Regions from separate parts of the Homo sapiens genome. Here all the other regions are linked to region 3. Evidence: promoter capture Hi-C in human tissues and cell types (Jung and others, 2019). All regions are on one chromosome and are shown on one strand. The core of a region is centred on a gene start or on the middle of the fragment in contact, and the rest is flanking DNA. Distances in the headings are between cores, read along the strand shown. Region 1 overlaps DHX35 (DEAH-box helicase 35). Region 2 overlaps DHX35 (DEAH-box helicase 35). Region 3 holds the start of FAM83D (family with sequence similarity 83 member D).

The links. Contacts are between HindIII fragments. The study calls those that stand out against the background at their distance.
Region 1: a fragment that was not itself captured here is called in contact with the fragment with the promoter of FAM83D in region 3 in 3 of the 25 tissues and cell types used here (bladder, lymphoblastoid cells and stomach).
Region 2: a fragment that was not itself captured here is called in contact with the fragment with the promoter of FAM83D in region 3 in 5 of the 25 tissues and cell types used here (adrenal gland, lymphoblastoid cells, neural progenitor cells and 2 more).

What each region holds. Positions count from the first base shown.
Region 1 is chr20:39,009,306-39,013,970 of GRCh38, reverse strand. DHX35 (DEAH-box helicase 35) reads right to left here. Exons shown (of 22, transcript NM_021931.4): 13 at 3,567-3,691. Among named protein-coding and RNA genes, the nearest start is that of DHX35, 49 kb to the right of the region's middle. The HindIII fragment of the contact is 3,437 bases long and covers 1,308-4,665 here.
Region 2 is chr20:39,026,253-39,030,978 of GRCh38, reverse strand. It overlaps DHX35 (DEAH-box helicase 35), which reads right to left. Exons shown (of 22, transcript NM_021931.4): 19 at 2,480-2,561; 20 at 204-275. Among named protein-coding and RNA genes, the nearest start is that of DHX35, 66 kb to the right of the region's middle. The HindIII fragment of the contact is 7,874 bases long and covers 1-4,726 here.
Region 3 is chr20:38,922,947-38,927,753 of GRCh38, reverse strand. It overlaps FAM83D (family with sequence similarity 83 member D), which reads right to left and starts at 1,337. Exons shown (of 4, transcript NM_030919.3): 1 at 829-1,337. The coding sequence starts at 1,311. PPP1R16B (protein phosphatase 1 regulatory subunit 16B) reads right to left here. Exons shown (of 11, transcript NM_015568.4): 11 at 4,730-4,807. RefSeq lists an enhancer at 1,150-1,249 and a silencer at 1,360-1,719. The HindIII fragment of the contact is 31,187 bases long and covers 1-4,807 here.

The DNA.
Region 1 (4,665 bases), core at 1,777-4,276, 85 kb before region 3:
CCTCATTTTTCCCAGTCTACCTTCCCTACTTTGTTTGCCAAAGACCAAAGTTAAACTTTTTTAAAAGTTGTAGTGACCGTACACACAGGTGAACACACGAGGGCAGGAACTAAACCTATTGGATTCATTACACAGAGAGGATTCAACAAATCACCATTGAGCAAATCATGTAAATGATCCACTAGCCCTTCCTTGGTGCTTACAACATCTTTCTCTACAAAGAAGCAAAATGGGCAACACTTAAATGAAGGAGCTTAAACCCTGTGGGATCTTTTATACTGAGAGTGGATGAGGTAACAGGAATAGCAATCTCTGAACTAGGCTTTTAACAATTACAGAAAAAGCTAACAAGGTCAGCTCTGACTCAATTCCTGGCCCGATTTCCAGTCAATTAACAAAAAAAACTTATCCCCCTCTCCACAAAAATCTTATCCATAGTATTTTCATCTAATCACATTCACTAGTATTTCTCTGTGACCTCAACTGATTTGGGATAATACAGAAACACTGTTTTAACATATCTGGAATTACTGTTTATGTATAGTTTTAGTGTGGTCTTCTCACTACATGTTTTTCTGTTTTCATTGTTTCTTGCACCCATACAAACTTCACAGTAACTACTTGGGATGGCTGCATAATACTCTATGACAATCATACTCCATAAAAAAGTCAATTTTCTTATTGCTGGGCAATTAAATTGTTCCAGTTTTTCACCATTGTAAATAACATTGCTAAATATACAAAATTATATGTACTCTGTAATTTCAATCATAAAAACCACAATTTCAGGGGATAATAACCAGAAGGAAATATGTGAAGATAAATTTGTATTTTTTTTTTCATTTTTCAACTGTCCAAAAGTTTTACGATAATTTTCATTATTTATATTTTTAAATGTAATATAAATGCTATAAGCATTATCACATATGTAAGCTTTTTTTCTTCTTCTGAATTATTTTTTCAGGAGAAATTTTTATGAGAAGAAATAGCAGACATTTCTACGGCTCATTAAATGTTGTCAGAAAGTCCTCCATGGGGACAGAAACGGTATAACATGGGAGGAATTTACTTTCCCAAATTGTGGCAGTTTTCGATTTCACCATTTTTGTTTATACTCAATCATTTAATTAGTGTAAAGTCAACTGCGCACAGTGGCTCACACCTGTAATCCCAGCACTTTGGGAGGCCAAGGTGGGCAGATCACCTGAGGTCAGGCGTTCAAGACCATCCTGGCCAACATGGCAAAACCCCGTCTCTACTAAAAATACAAAAAATTAACCGAGCATGGTGGCTCTTTCCTGTAGTCCCAGCTACTTGGGAGGCTGAGATACGAGAATCACTTGAACCCAAGAGGCAGAGGTTGCAATGAGCTGAGATCGCACAACTGCACTCCAGCCTGGGTGACAGAGAGAGACTCTGTCTCAAAAAAAAAAAAAATTAGTGTAAAGTCATCCTTTATAGCTATATCAACGTGCAGTCACCTCTCTCCTAGAGAAGCTCAACATGTCCTAATGATAGTTGAAATTTGAATTTGTGCTGTTTTTTTCCTTTAGCTTTATTTAGTGAATATTTACTGTAAATGATGTGCATATAAAAACTCTTCATATTTTTTGAGATACTGATCTGTCATTTCTGTCACTGTATGTTTTTCTTTAATTTTACATGCGGGGCTTTTCATAAGCTTTCAAATCAGCACATACTGTTTATCTTTTCTTTTTTTTTAAGAAAGAGTCTCACCCTATTGCCCAGGCTGGAGTGCAGTGGCACAATCTCAGCTCACTGCAACCTCCACCTCCCGGGTTCAAGCGTTTCTCCTGCCTCAAGCCTCCCAAGTAGCTGGGACTACAGGCGCATGCCACCATGCCTGGCTAATTTTTGTATTTTTAGTAGAGACGGGGTTTCACCATGTTGGCCAGGCTGGTCTTGAAGTCCGGACCTCAAGTGATCCACCTGCCTCGGCCTCCCAAAGTGCTGGGATTACAGGCATAAGCCACCACGCTCAGCCTGTTTATCTTTTCTTTATAATATCTTCTACTCTACACCAATAATCAAAGGGTCCATTTTCCCTATACTTATGGTAAGTACACAATTTTCTTTGGGGGAGTTGATATTTGTATGTTCTATTCTTTCATTCACCTAGTTTACCATCACATATGACATTAGGGACTTTACTATCCAAGAATCCAGACTTTCCAGACTTGTCATATCATATACAGTTGGGAAAAAACAAAGTTCTCAAATCATAAAAATTCTAGAAGAAAATATGAGAGAATATGTATTAACTGACCCAAATATAAGAAGTACTTCATAAGGGCAAGAATAACCAAAGAGGCCGGGGGTGGTGGCTCACGCCTATAATCCTAGCACTTCGGGAGGCCCAGACGGGGTGGATCACCTGACCTGCTCAGGAGTTTGAGACCAGCCTGGTCAACAAGGCAAAACCTTGTCTCTACTAAAAATATAAAAAATTAGCCAGGCGTGGTGGCACACACCTGTAATCCCAGCCACTCAAGAGGCTGAAGCACAAGAATCACTTGAGCCTGGGAGGCAGAGGTTGCAGTGAGCCAAGATGGCACCACTGCACTCCAGCCTGGGCTACAGAGTGAGACTGTCTCAGAAAATAAAGAAAGAAAAAAAGAATAGCCAAAGAAATCATAAAGGCAAAAATAGATTACTGTGAATATGTTTAGAATGTCCACACATTAAAAAAAAAACAGTAAAATATAAATAGAAAATATTTGTAAGAAATATTATAAAAATTAATGTCTTTAATATTCAAAGGACTCTTGAAAATCACTAACTGACACAAATTCTAACAGATAAATAGCTTAACAACTCAGAAGAAATAAAAACTGACTAATAAATGTTTTTATAAAAATCTATCTTATGAAAAATTTAAAAATAATTATAATAAAGGTGATTTCCTCTCTCTGGCCAATCAAATCAGCAAACCCAAAGAAGATAACATGGCACAATGGAAGTACCACAAGGTGGGCATTCAGGCACTGCTAGAGTTGACATTGGTAAAGCAATCTGGCCATGTAACAGGACCCTAAACAGGACAACGGCCCTTTGACCCAGTCATTCTACTCCTAGAAATCATCTCAGGAAGCAATCAGGCACAAGGGTCTTCCTGCAGCTCTATCTAAAGCTGCAGGAAGGATCCCCCAATCATGGTACTCCTGCATCTAGGCCTCTACAAAGACTAGCTGTCCTGGAACTCTCCACTCCTAACCTGGTGAGATTCTATTTGGGTTTCAGGTTTCACCTGGGAGGCCCTTCCTTTGTCTCTCAGAGCCCTGGGCACACTGCTCTGTAATTACCCACTTACTTGTCTCTATTCCCCAGCAGACAAGAACAGGAACTATGTAAGAATAGGAATTGAGGCTACCTTGTCTGGCTGTTTTCCCCTACGTCCTGCACAGGGCCTGGTTGCAAAGCAGACACACAACACATGACCTGAGTAGGGAAAAAAAGGAAAGATGGCATGCCCTACGACAATGTCCTGACATCCCCCTGTGAGCTCCCTAGCCTCCCTATGGCCCCAGACAGCAGGCAGGACTTACCGACATGAAGTGGAACCTGAGGACATTGTCAATTCCTAGTGCTTTCAGCTGCAGGATGACAGGTGCCAAATTACTACGCTGCATCTCAGGAACCGTAGACTGAGGCAACTTGTCAAAGGCTTCCTCTGAGGATAGGAAATCAGAACTGTTTGGGACCAAATGTCACAATCAAATGCAATCACTATGCCAAGGGACAAATTTTCTTCTCTATCTTGAACAAGGGTCTCTAGGATTCTAGAAGCAGATGCACATGATACCATGATATAAAGTTATTTTTATACTTAGGAAAGACCATTCTATTTTTAAAATGCCTTAGATAAATATATTTGAATACACCTTTATAAAACTTTATCTAAAATTCTGTTTTTTAATGTTTTTTGTCAGCAAAACATTAAATCAAACCAACAAGTACTTGCTGAATCACTATCAGTTCCCAGTTGCCACCATCTCTGTTTGGAATAAGTCAAGGAAGCAAGAGCTTCACATACAAGCAAAGAACAATTTCAAGATAAATCACCAAAATACAACAAATGACCAAATCTTATAAAGAGCAAAAATTGTCCAAATCAAATTTTTAAATCAACAAGCCAGGTACACAATATCATTCCCAGAATCCAATGCTGCCCCAAACCAAGAAATGAATGTTTACATGCCCTACCAGGAAGAAGAGGTGACCTTACACAGGAAAAAGCATCCTAAGACACAGAGATCCCAAGACAGGAAGGGCAGAAAGGGAGGGGGAAGGAGAAGAGACTTTGGAAGAAGGCCTTTTTATAAAAGCTAGGCAGGAAGGGTGGGGAAAAAAGAGGAAGAGATTAACTCATTTTCATGTATATTCAGAAAGCTTAAGGATTATATAGAGAATGCTCCACCCACCAAAACCTCCCACATCAGTCAACATTGTAACTGATGTACACCCTTCTTAAACAATACAAGGGTGACCCAACTTCCATTTAGATCATAAAGCTTTAGTTAACTAGAGGAAAAAAAAAAAAGTGCCATGAAGAAATACCACTATCCCCGAAAAACTTCAGAAAGGTTTTCTTTGAGAAAACAGACAACCAATATTCTGTGGACTAATTGATACAAATTGGGTCTA
Region 2 (4,726 bases), core at 845-3,344, 100 kb before region 3:
GTTGGCCAGGCTGGTCTTGAACTCCTGACCTCAGGTGACCTGCCTACATTGGCCTCCCAAAGTGCTGGGATTACAGGCGTGAGCCACCACGCCCGGCCCAGAGCAGCAATTCTAGAGGCGATGTCAAGAAACATGTACAGGAGAAAAACAAGAACATGGCCCTGTTCAAAGCAGGCACAGGCTAAGCAGCAGGATGAGCTTACCAGCGAGGCGGCTTCTCTGCATAGAGGACTGACGCAGGGTGTATGTGCAGCTCATGGTCATCACGGATGGTCCTTGGAACATAGAAGAATTTTGTCTGAAGCACATTTTAAATACTTATAGCAAGACTTTCCCACAGATATTTTTAATATTACCAAAAAAGCATGCAGACTGAACTCGTCACAAGCAAAACAATTATCTCCATCTTCTCTTGCAACCTTTCTTGATCCCTCTCCTGGCTGCCACCCCAGAAGTCAAGAATAAATCACGTGGAAAAAGCGAAGAGGAGAAAAGCAACACGCGGACACTTAGAAAAAACATTTAGGAATAAAATGCTCTGCCTATGTTTATGTGTATCTTCTGCAGGTGCTCTTTCAAAACAATTTCCTTTGGAATGGAAATAATACATGTGATTTCTTCTATAATCTAAAAAGCAAAGTTAAATACTAAAGATAATGACTATAGGGGGACGTAACGATAATGAAAAAAGAAAGCTCACAGCCAGGCATGGTGGCTCATGCCTGTAATCCCAGCACTTTGGGAGGCCAAGGCGAGCAGATCACTTGAGGTCGGGAGTTCAAGACCAGCCTGGCCAACATGGAGAAACCCTGTCTCTACTAAAAATACAAAATTAGTTGGGTGTGGTGTCACATGCCTGTAATCCCAGCTACTCCGGAGGCTGAGGCAGGAGAATCGCTTGAAACTGGGAGGCAAAGGTTGCGATGAGCCAAGATCACCCCATTGCACTCTAGCATGGGCAACAAGAGCGAAACTCCATCTCAAAAAAAAAAAAAAAAGCTCAATACTGGACTATTAATTTCTCTGAAATAGTACTTCCAATTCCAACTCAGTAGAATGATCTGTTTCTTGGGGGAAGTGCTTCAAGTGCTGTGACGGAATGCCTCGTCGGCATTGTAATAAAGCCAGCGTCCTGGGGTCCTGGGCTGTCCTACCAGGGGGTGGTGAGCTGATCAACACTAAATGTTGTCTCAAAGGAATGATTAGCCTGGAACCTCTTAGGTAGCCCACATTGTTGCTAAGGACACTGATAAAAGAATTTTCCAAACGCTAGTCAAAATTGCTAACTCTCCAGGAGAGTAGGAGCAATCAAGATGACAAGCTGGCAGCACTCCTTAGGGAAGATCTCGGGCCACCGTGGGGGTCGCCTCCACATGGACAAGTTGCCTCAAATACAGACAACTCAGGGTGGGGAGGTGAGCTCATACAATGGGCAAATGAATCACAATACTGACAGGCTACAACATGCCTGGAGTAACAAAGAGAACATACTAGAGATCATTGTAAAGTGCTATCCTGCAGTTCCAACAGTCGGCTACTAGGATACTAGATGGAGCAGATCTGGCTGTCAAAATTAAAAAAGGCTCAGTGCAACTCTGGACTCATTAACAGGAGCCCAGGACAAGGGATATCTTGGCTGACCTCAAGATAACAGGGCAGTAATATTTTCTCTGGGAAAAAAAATTAATGACAAAATAATACATAGAAGAGCTGGGGAGAAATTCTTTGGAGTGTTCTCTTATTAAAGAACAGAAAATGATGATAGCTACACTTTTAGGAGGCTACACTGAGGTTATGAAACTAAAATGAGCCAAAGACAGAAAAGACAGAATAAAAGTAACAATTCAAAGCACTGGAATGATTAGTTTGGAGAATCATGATACTGACAGGCTACAGTATGCCTAAGCTATGCTTAGTTTTCACTGCATTTGAATATAGTAAAGACCATTAGGAAGGCATCAATGAGTGATTTCCTATGCCTAGAAAATGGAACTGGAAGAATCAGGTTATGTAGCAGGAGGCACATCCAGCACATGAGAAACACCTGGCTACCTCCAAAGACACCAGACGTGGCCACACTATACCAGGGTGGGAGGGGACTTCAGTCGTGCAGATCTCTAAAGACATAATAAACTAGCCAATTGTAAAATAACTTCTCTGAGAAACATTATTTTTAATAGTTTCTTCAGGTCATATTATTCTGTCATTAGAATTGAAATATTACCAGCCTCAAGATGTATAATTGTCATCCTTCTAAAACATACAACATATAGATGAGCTGAATATGTGAGAATCATTTTTAGAAAGTCAAGATATTTTGCTTAAAGCTATGTCGCTAACCTCAACTCAGTTTTGGAAGGAGACATGGTAGAAATTACAAATAATTATGCAATTACTATCTCTGCACAGCTTTCTGTGGGGTTTGGGTCATTTGTAAGATTGTTCCTTTAACAAATGACTTCACCAAGTATCATGTTACCTATAAGCTCCAGTAGAATGAAACCTCGCTGCATTGGCGAAGAAGCCGGAGACAATGCACCTCAGAACCAGATCCGGGTCACCTACATAGGCAGCCAACAGAGAGGCGGGTGAAACCCTTGCCTGCCCTAGGCTCCGTGTGCTCTAATGCACAGGATCCACTCCCAGCACCACCCCAGGCTGCTTCAAGACACCTGGAAACCCTCTCCTGAAATGGCTCCAGCCCTACCCTTCCCAATGCTGGATGCCTGCCCCAGCACCATCTAAGGAGGTCCCACTCCCCACAACTGCTGCTGACAACAATGCTGGTCTGCTCCTTGAACCTGGGACCCCTCCAACCTCCCCTAAGCCACAGATGACTGGACCATGGCTGGGCACCAGAACCTAAGAGTGCTGCTCTGCAGGCTGGTCAGTGACCTCAGAACTCCTTTGTAAAAGAGTGTCATATGGCAACAATGTTCTTTCTATAAAACACAAACTGGAGATAGTATACAACGTTACTTCTGTGGTTATGAGCTAGTGTTTGAAAATTGAAGTAATTCTTCAAATTTTTCAAATGTTCCATTTTAACTGGTGTTTCTATTGCTACAGCTAACATCTTCCATGAATAAAGCTTCCCCACTATTAGATGATGTCCATAGGATACATTCCAAATTGTTGTGCAAAAGGCTAATGTTATTTTTATGGTTAATGACATATCACATCTCATCAATTTTAAGACTCGCTCTTTTTCTAACTTTAATTCACTGAAATTAGGACAGCATTTTACAATGATAACTGGCAGCATTTTTTTTCTTTGGTGACACATAAAATAACGATGTTTCTTACACATGATGGTATCTTAGATCCAATGGAATAAAGCATGTTGGTAAGTAAGTTCCATAAAGGTGGTACTATTTCCAAAGCCATCAACAATATATAAAAATGGCAGTTTCACTGCATTCTTACTAGCAATGTTTTGGCAAAAAGTGTTACCTTCTGTTACCTTCTTTTATATTACATTTATTTGATTACTATCGGCATATTTCTTCTTTTGTGAATTTTTTGTTCTAATCCTTAGCCCATTTATCAACCTGAAAACTGTTTTTTCCTAAATATATTAAATAAAATCATTCTATAATAAAGTTTTTAATCTTTATCATTTATCTCATGACTGCTGAAAGTATCTTTCACTAATTGCTTTCTATTTTTTAACCCTTAGATGTTTTAAATTTGCATGTAATTTATTTAGTCTCCATGATTTTCTGTATTTTTCCTAAGCACTGAGCTGATAAAATCTCAAATCTACATGTCTAAATATGATCTAATCCGATATCCAGTCTCTTCTCTCCTATTGTCCATAAGAAATTTCCATGTAAAATATGCACTCTAAACAGGGGTGATATCACTTCCAAAGGGGTGGAAACTGGTTCTTGGAGGCAGGGGGAGGGGAGCATCTTAGACACTACAATGGCCGGTAGCCCTCCAAAGCTCAATCCTACCCTACAAAATCTTATTCCTTAGTATTTAATTTCTCAGGCTGGGTAGAATTTAAATTTAACTTTTCTCCTGGGCAGGGGTCTGATAATGAAACACAGGTGAAGAACACCAATTGCTGAAGTAAGGCTGTCATCTACCTGCTGGGTGACAGGCGTTTGACGAGCTGCTCTCCAACTAGGTGCTCCTTGTAAGCATCCTGTTTCTATCAATGACTCCAACATGGCTCAATGGCCCAGGTTTCAACTCTTCCCTCTCTCGTGAGTGTATTCACCCATCAAATATTCTCTGAGCGTCTCATATACTCCTCACTCCAAGCACTTGTCTCCAGTCCTCCTTCCCTAGAGTGCTCTTTGCCACCATTTTCTAATTCAACCAGACCCCAAAGCTTGACCGGACTCCCACCACACCTCAAGGAAGCTGAAAGACTTCCCAAGCTAGCCCTCTCTGGATTCCTTCTTCCCGGCATTCCTTCCACATCTGCCAGCACGTCTTCTATGATTACTAAAGTATCTACTACTTTAACTTCGAAGAGGACTGATAATCTTAGTACTTTGTCTATCCATATGAATCTCTCCCTTCATTACACTGTTCCCTTAGAGTAAAAGCCAAGACTCCGTCATTGTTTAATCACTTGCTCTTAGTATAAAGACAAAAGAAGACTTAAATGGAACCGCCTGGGCTCAGGTTCTGACTCCATCATACCCTCACTGTGTAACTTCAGCAAGTTACATTTTACCTCTTAGCCACGCTTTTCTCACCTATAAGATGG
Region 3 (4,807 bases), core at 88-2,587:
GCCGAGGCGGGTGGATCACCTGAGGTCAGGAGTTCGAGACCAGCTTGGCCAACATGGAGAAACCCCGTCTCTACTAAAAATACAAAAATTAGCCGGGCGTGGTGGCGGGCACCGGTAATCCCAGCTACTTGGGAGGCTGAGGCAGGAGAGTCACTTGAACCCGGGGGACGGAGGTTGCAGTGAACTGAGATCCCACCACTTCACTCCAGCCTGGGCAAAAGAGAATCTGTCTCAAAAAAAAAAAAAAAAAAAAAAGACAAGAAAGAAAAAGCGGCAGGGCTCTCACTTTGCCACTCTCGTGTTTATCTGCTTTTTACAGCAAAAGATGCATGAAAGTAATTAGCAATAATAATTGCTTCCTAATGCCCCGTAGTTGTCTCTGGAGACCATCTTTCTGGAACTTTCCCTGCGTAAGTTCTTTGGTAATGAGTCTCCTAAGAAGCTCCTGAAAGTGGGATCTAGCGTTGGCTGACAGACAGGGAAATAGGCAATTTTCCAAGTTTGATTTTAACTGAAATTTGGAACTCAGAGTACTTCTGGTCCCTCCTTCAGGGATATGAACGTTAGGAGATGGAACCCGGGCACAATTCGCATCCTTGGGAACCGAGGCTTTCCCACTATCCCCTGCCACGAGGAGCGGCCCGGGGGATCCGGGGGAGACACGCAGAGTGGGGTGTGAGTCGGAGACCCTGGGACCACCTAGCCCGCGCGCGCTTCCGGTAGGGCGCAGAGGAGGTAGTGGCCCCGGCCCGTACTCCCAGCAGGCCTCAATTTCCCATTCTTGAAGGGGGTCTCCCGTGCGACCCAGGGCCCTGGAGGGCCGCTCACCTCTCGCGCCGAGCGGAGCTGCTGGCGCAGAGCGTCCTTGCAGCCGTAGGGGCCACCTTCGCCAGCGCCGCGGGGCTGGAAGTGCGTCTCGACACGCGTGGCGCCGCGGTAGGCGCCCTGGTAGAAGGCGGGCCAGCCAAGCTCCAACAGCGGTGGCTCCAGGTCCGACTGCTCGGGGAAGTAGGTGCCCGAAGAGCAGTCGTGCGAGGAGCCGAACGAGTCCTCGGCCGCCGCCGCCGCCGCCGCGCCCTCCTCTCCCGGCCTCTCCGCCGCGCGCAGAATGGCGTGCACCTCATCGGGGTTCAGGAAACGAGCCAGGCGCTCGCGTCGCAGGAAGGCCGCGAAGGCTTCGGGGCCGCCCGCCACCAGCTCCTCCAGAGCCAGGCGCCGTGACTCGCTGAACAGCTCGGTCGGGTTGGGCGGCCCGCACGGCGACAGGCAGGCGGCGGGCACCTCGTCCAGGCCCTCGGACAGCAGAGCCATGGCGGCGCTCGGACTCGACAGCCCTCGGACAAAAACCGGCGTGCAGTCCCGCTTTATAGGCAACCTTTGAATCAAACAGGCCCGCGCCATTGGCCGCACCTCCCCGCCTCGGCTCTCCCATTGGCTGCTTTCCTTCCAATAGCGGAGCGAGGCGGGGCGCAAGCCTCTACGGCTCCGCCCCCTGATGCGTTATTGGCTGCGATGCTGGGCTTGCTAAGAGGAATTTAAACTTGCAGGGGCGAGGCGGGCCGCAGAGCAGGGACAGAGCGGGGAGAGCCGAGCTCCTGGCCATCCCAGCGCGCCCCCTGCCGGTCGCCCCGCTGCGCGGCCGTGCAAGGCCAGGGACAGTCAGGCCTAGACAACGAGGAGAGGCAGGTGCCGACTCCCGGAGACTCTGGCCACGCTGCTCCTAGGCTCTCAGTGCTTTGGCATGGCCAACCATATCGCCTTTATCACCTGCCTTTAACCATGTATTCATTCATTCAAAGAATACCGGCTCATCGTATTAGGACTGCTCCTTTGATTACACCCTCGGGTAGTCTTCTCTCATTTCATCGATTTTTGCCTTGTAAAACCCCAACCAACCGTGGTTATACCCTACTTTCCACCTGCACCCCGGCAGCCCTACAGGGCTGAAGAAAAAACAAAAAGAGCGTAACCATGCTTACTGACTGGTCATGTTTTAAATTCATAATCCGTAAGACTGCCTGCTAGGAGGCCGGGCGCGGTGGCTCACGCCTGTAATCCCAGCACTTTAGGAGGCCGAGGAGGGCGGATCACCTAAGGTCAGGCGTTTGAGACTAGCCTGACCAACACGGTGAAACCCCGTCTCTACTAAAAATACAAAAATTAGCCAGGTGTCTTGGTGTACGCCTGTAATCCCAGATACTCGGGAGGCTGAGGCAGGAGAATCACTTGAACGCGGGAGGCGGATGTTGCAGTGAGTCGAGATAGCACCACTGCACTCCAGCCTGGGCGACAAGATCGAAACTCCATCTAAAAACAAAACAAAACAAAACAAAAGCAAACAAACAAAAAAACTGCCTGGTAGGCCGCATTTCCCTCATTCTCTCTACCTTTTCCTCTCTGACAGCTTGTCTTCCATGTCAGCAAGAACACAGAAACAGTAAGAAGGGAACGTCCACGTGCGGCCATCTAGTCTACCTTCCTGTCTGCATCTCTGCCCGTATACTGGGCATTGATGAACTGTGCCTGTGCCCATCCAACCCCAACCCCTCTGCCTGGGCATTTCCAGCCCCTCTACTACTCACCAGCATCGCTCCAGCAATCTTCTTCTTTCTCCTGGAACATCAGCTTCCCTCTTTACCGATTCATTTCTATCAGCCTACAAGCATGCTGAAATATTTTTCATCTTAAAACAACCCTCTCTTGACCCTACATTCCTCTAAAGCTCCCCATCTCACTTCTTATTTTTGCAGCATAGAATCTCAGATGTGGCTGGCCATGGTGACTTACACCTGTAATCCCAGCACTGTGGGAGGCCAAGGGAAGAGGATCACTTGAGCCCAGGAGTTTGAGACCAGCCTGGGCAGCATAGTGAGACCCTGTCTTTACAAAAAAATACAAAAGTTAGCTGGGCATGGTGGTGCGCCTAACTTTTAGTGCATGGCAGTGCTCATGATGGTCCCAGCCAGTGGGAAGGCTGAGGCAAGAGATCACTTGAGCCCAGGAGTTTGCAGCTGTAGTGAACTATGATCACACCACTGCACCCCAGCCTGGGTGACAGAGTAAGACCCTGTCTCAGAAAAAGAAAGAAAGAAAAGAAAAGAAAAGAAACCCTCAAACCAGTTGTCTATACTTGCTGTCTCCAGTTCCCTTCCAGCCCTCTTCAATCAGGCTAAAACCCCCACTGCTTTACCAAAACCTCTTGTCAGGTTCATCATGAGTTCCACAGAGCTAAATCCAACAGTCAATTTTCAGTCGTCATCTTTTTTATGTAAATGAAAAGTGGGTCATAAATGTGAGATGTTACCATTATTATTTAGCAACCAATAACCTTTTTAAATGGATGAATGCCTGCCGCTGTTGAGACGCCTCTCCCTCTCTACCTCTCCTCTCCCCATCCCCATCCCTTTGTGAAGTTTCTCAAGAATAAGTGTGGGGACTTCCATGTGTCCCTGCGCTGGTATCCAGGGTCCGGGAGGCTGCAAGAGAGCACCTTCTTTTTTTTTTTTTTTTTTTTTTTTTTGAGACGGAGTCTTGCCCTGTCACCCAGGCTGGAGTGCAATGGCGTGATCTCGGCTCACTGCAACCTCCGCCTCCAGGGTTCAAACGATTATCCTGCCTCAGCCTCCTGAGTAGCTGGGATTACAGGCTCATGCCACCACACCTGGCCAATTTTCTGCATCTTTAGTAGAGATGGGGTTTCATCACGTTGGCCAGGCTGGTCTCGAACTCCTGACCTTGTGATCCGACACCCTTTTCATCCTCTTTCAAGAAAAACACCAACAAAGTTCTGTGTGGGACAAGGACCAAGGACTGTGGTCTGAGGCTGTGCAACCACATAGCTTCTCTATGCCTTTAATGCTCGAGGTAAAAAATGAGAATGGCCGGGGCCTTAGCTGCTGTATTGCTGTCATAAGGTGAAGTACTTTATAGTATCGTACTTCCCCACAATAAGCACACGAGGGGAAAGAGTGGAATGGGGCAGGGGGAAGAGGACAGGACATGTCAGTTCACTCCAAGAATGGGACAGAGGAGAGGGGCACCCTTGTTACATATAAATGTCATGAGAGGCGGGGCGTGGTGGTTCACGCCTATAATCCCAGCACTTCGGGAGCTCAAGGCGGGAGGATCACTTGAGGTCAGGAGTTGGAGACCAGCCTGGCCAACATGGTGAAACTCTATCTCCACTAAAAATACAAAAAATTAGCTGGACATCACGGCGAGCGCCTGTAATCTCAGCTACTTGGGAAGCTGAGGCAGGAGAATTGCTGGAACCCGGGAGGCAGAGGTTGCAGTGAGCTGAGATCACGCCACTGCACTCCAGACTGGGTGAAAGAGTGAGGCTCCATCTTAAAAAAATAAAAATAAATAAATAAATATCAGGAAAAACTTTGAAAATGTATGGAATAAATATATGCTACTATACGGCCTCATGTTAATTTCAAAGAGATTATTTGACAGAATGAAGGTCATTCCCAACCACCCACCTTTTCTTGAATTCATCAGTTTTCACCATCTCCTAGTCTGGGGAGACATCTGCTCCAGGTCTGAGCCCCCAGAGCTCCCTCTATTTCAGGGGTCTCATGGGAAAGCCCTCTGTGGGAAAGGGGTGGGGTAAGGGGGAAGAGACTAGGAGCTCTCACCCACCCTCTATTCCAGGAACCTCCTCTTTGTGAATTCAAGTCAGCACTGTTCAAGTGAGCTCACAGCAATAATCACTCACACTAGCAGGTGTTATTAAAAGGAATTTAATAATTTTAATTAAAAACTCTTAACAGCGAATTCTGTCACAGGCCTTGGCAGCTGGAAG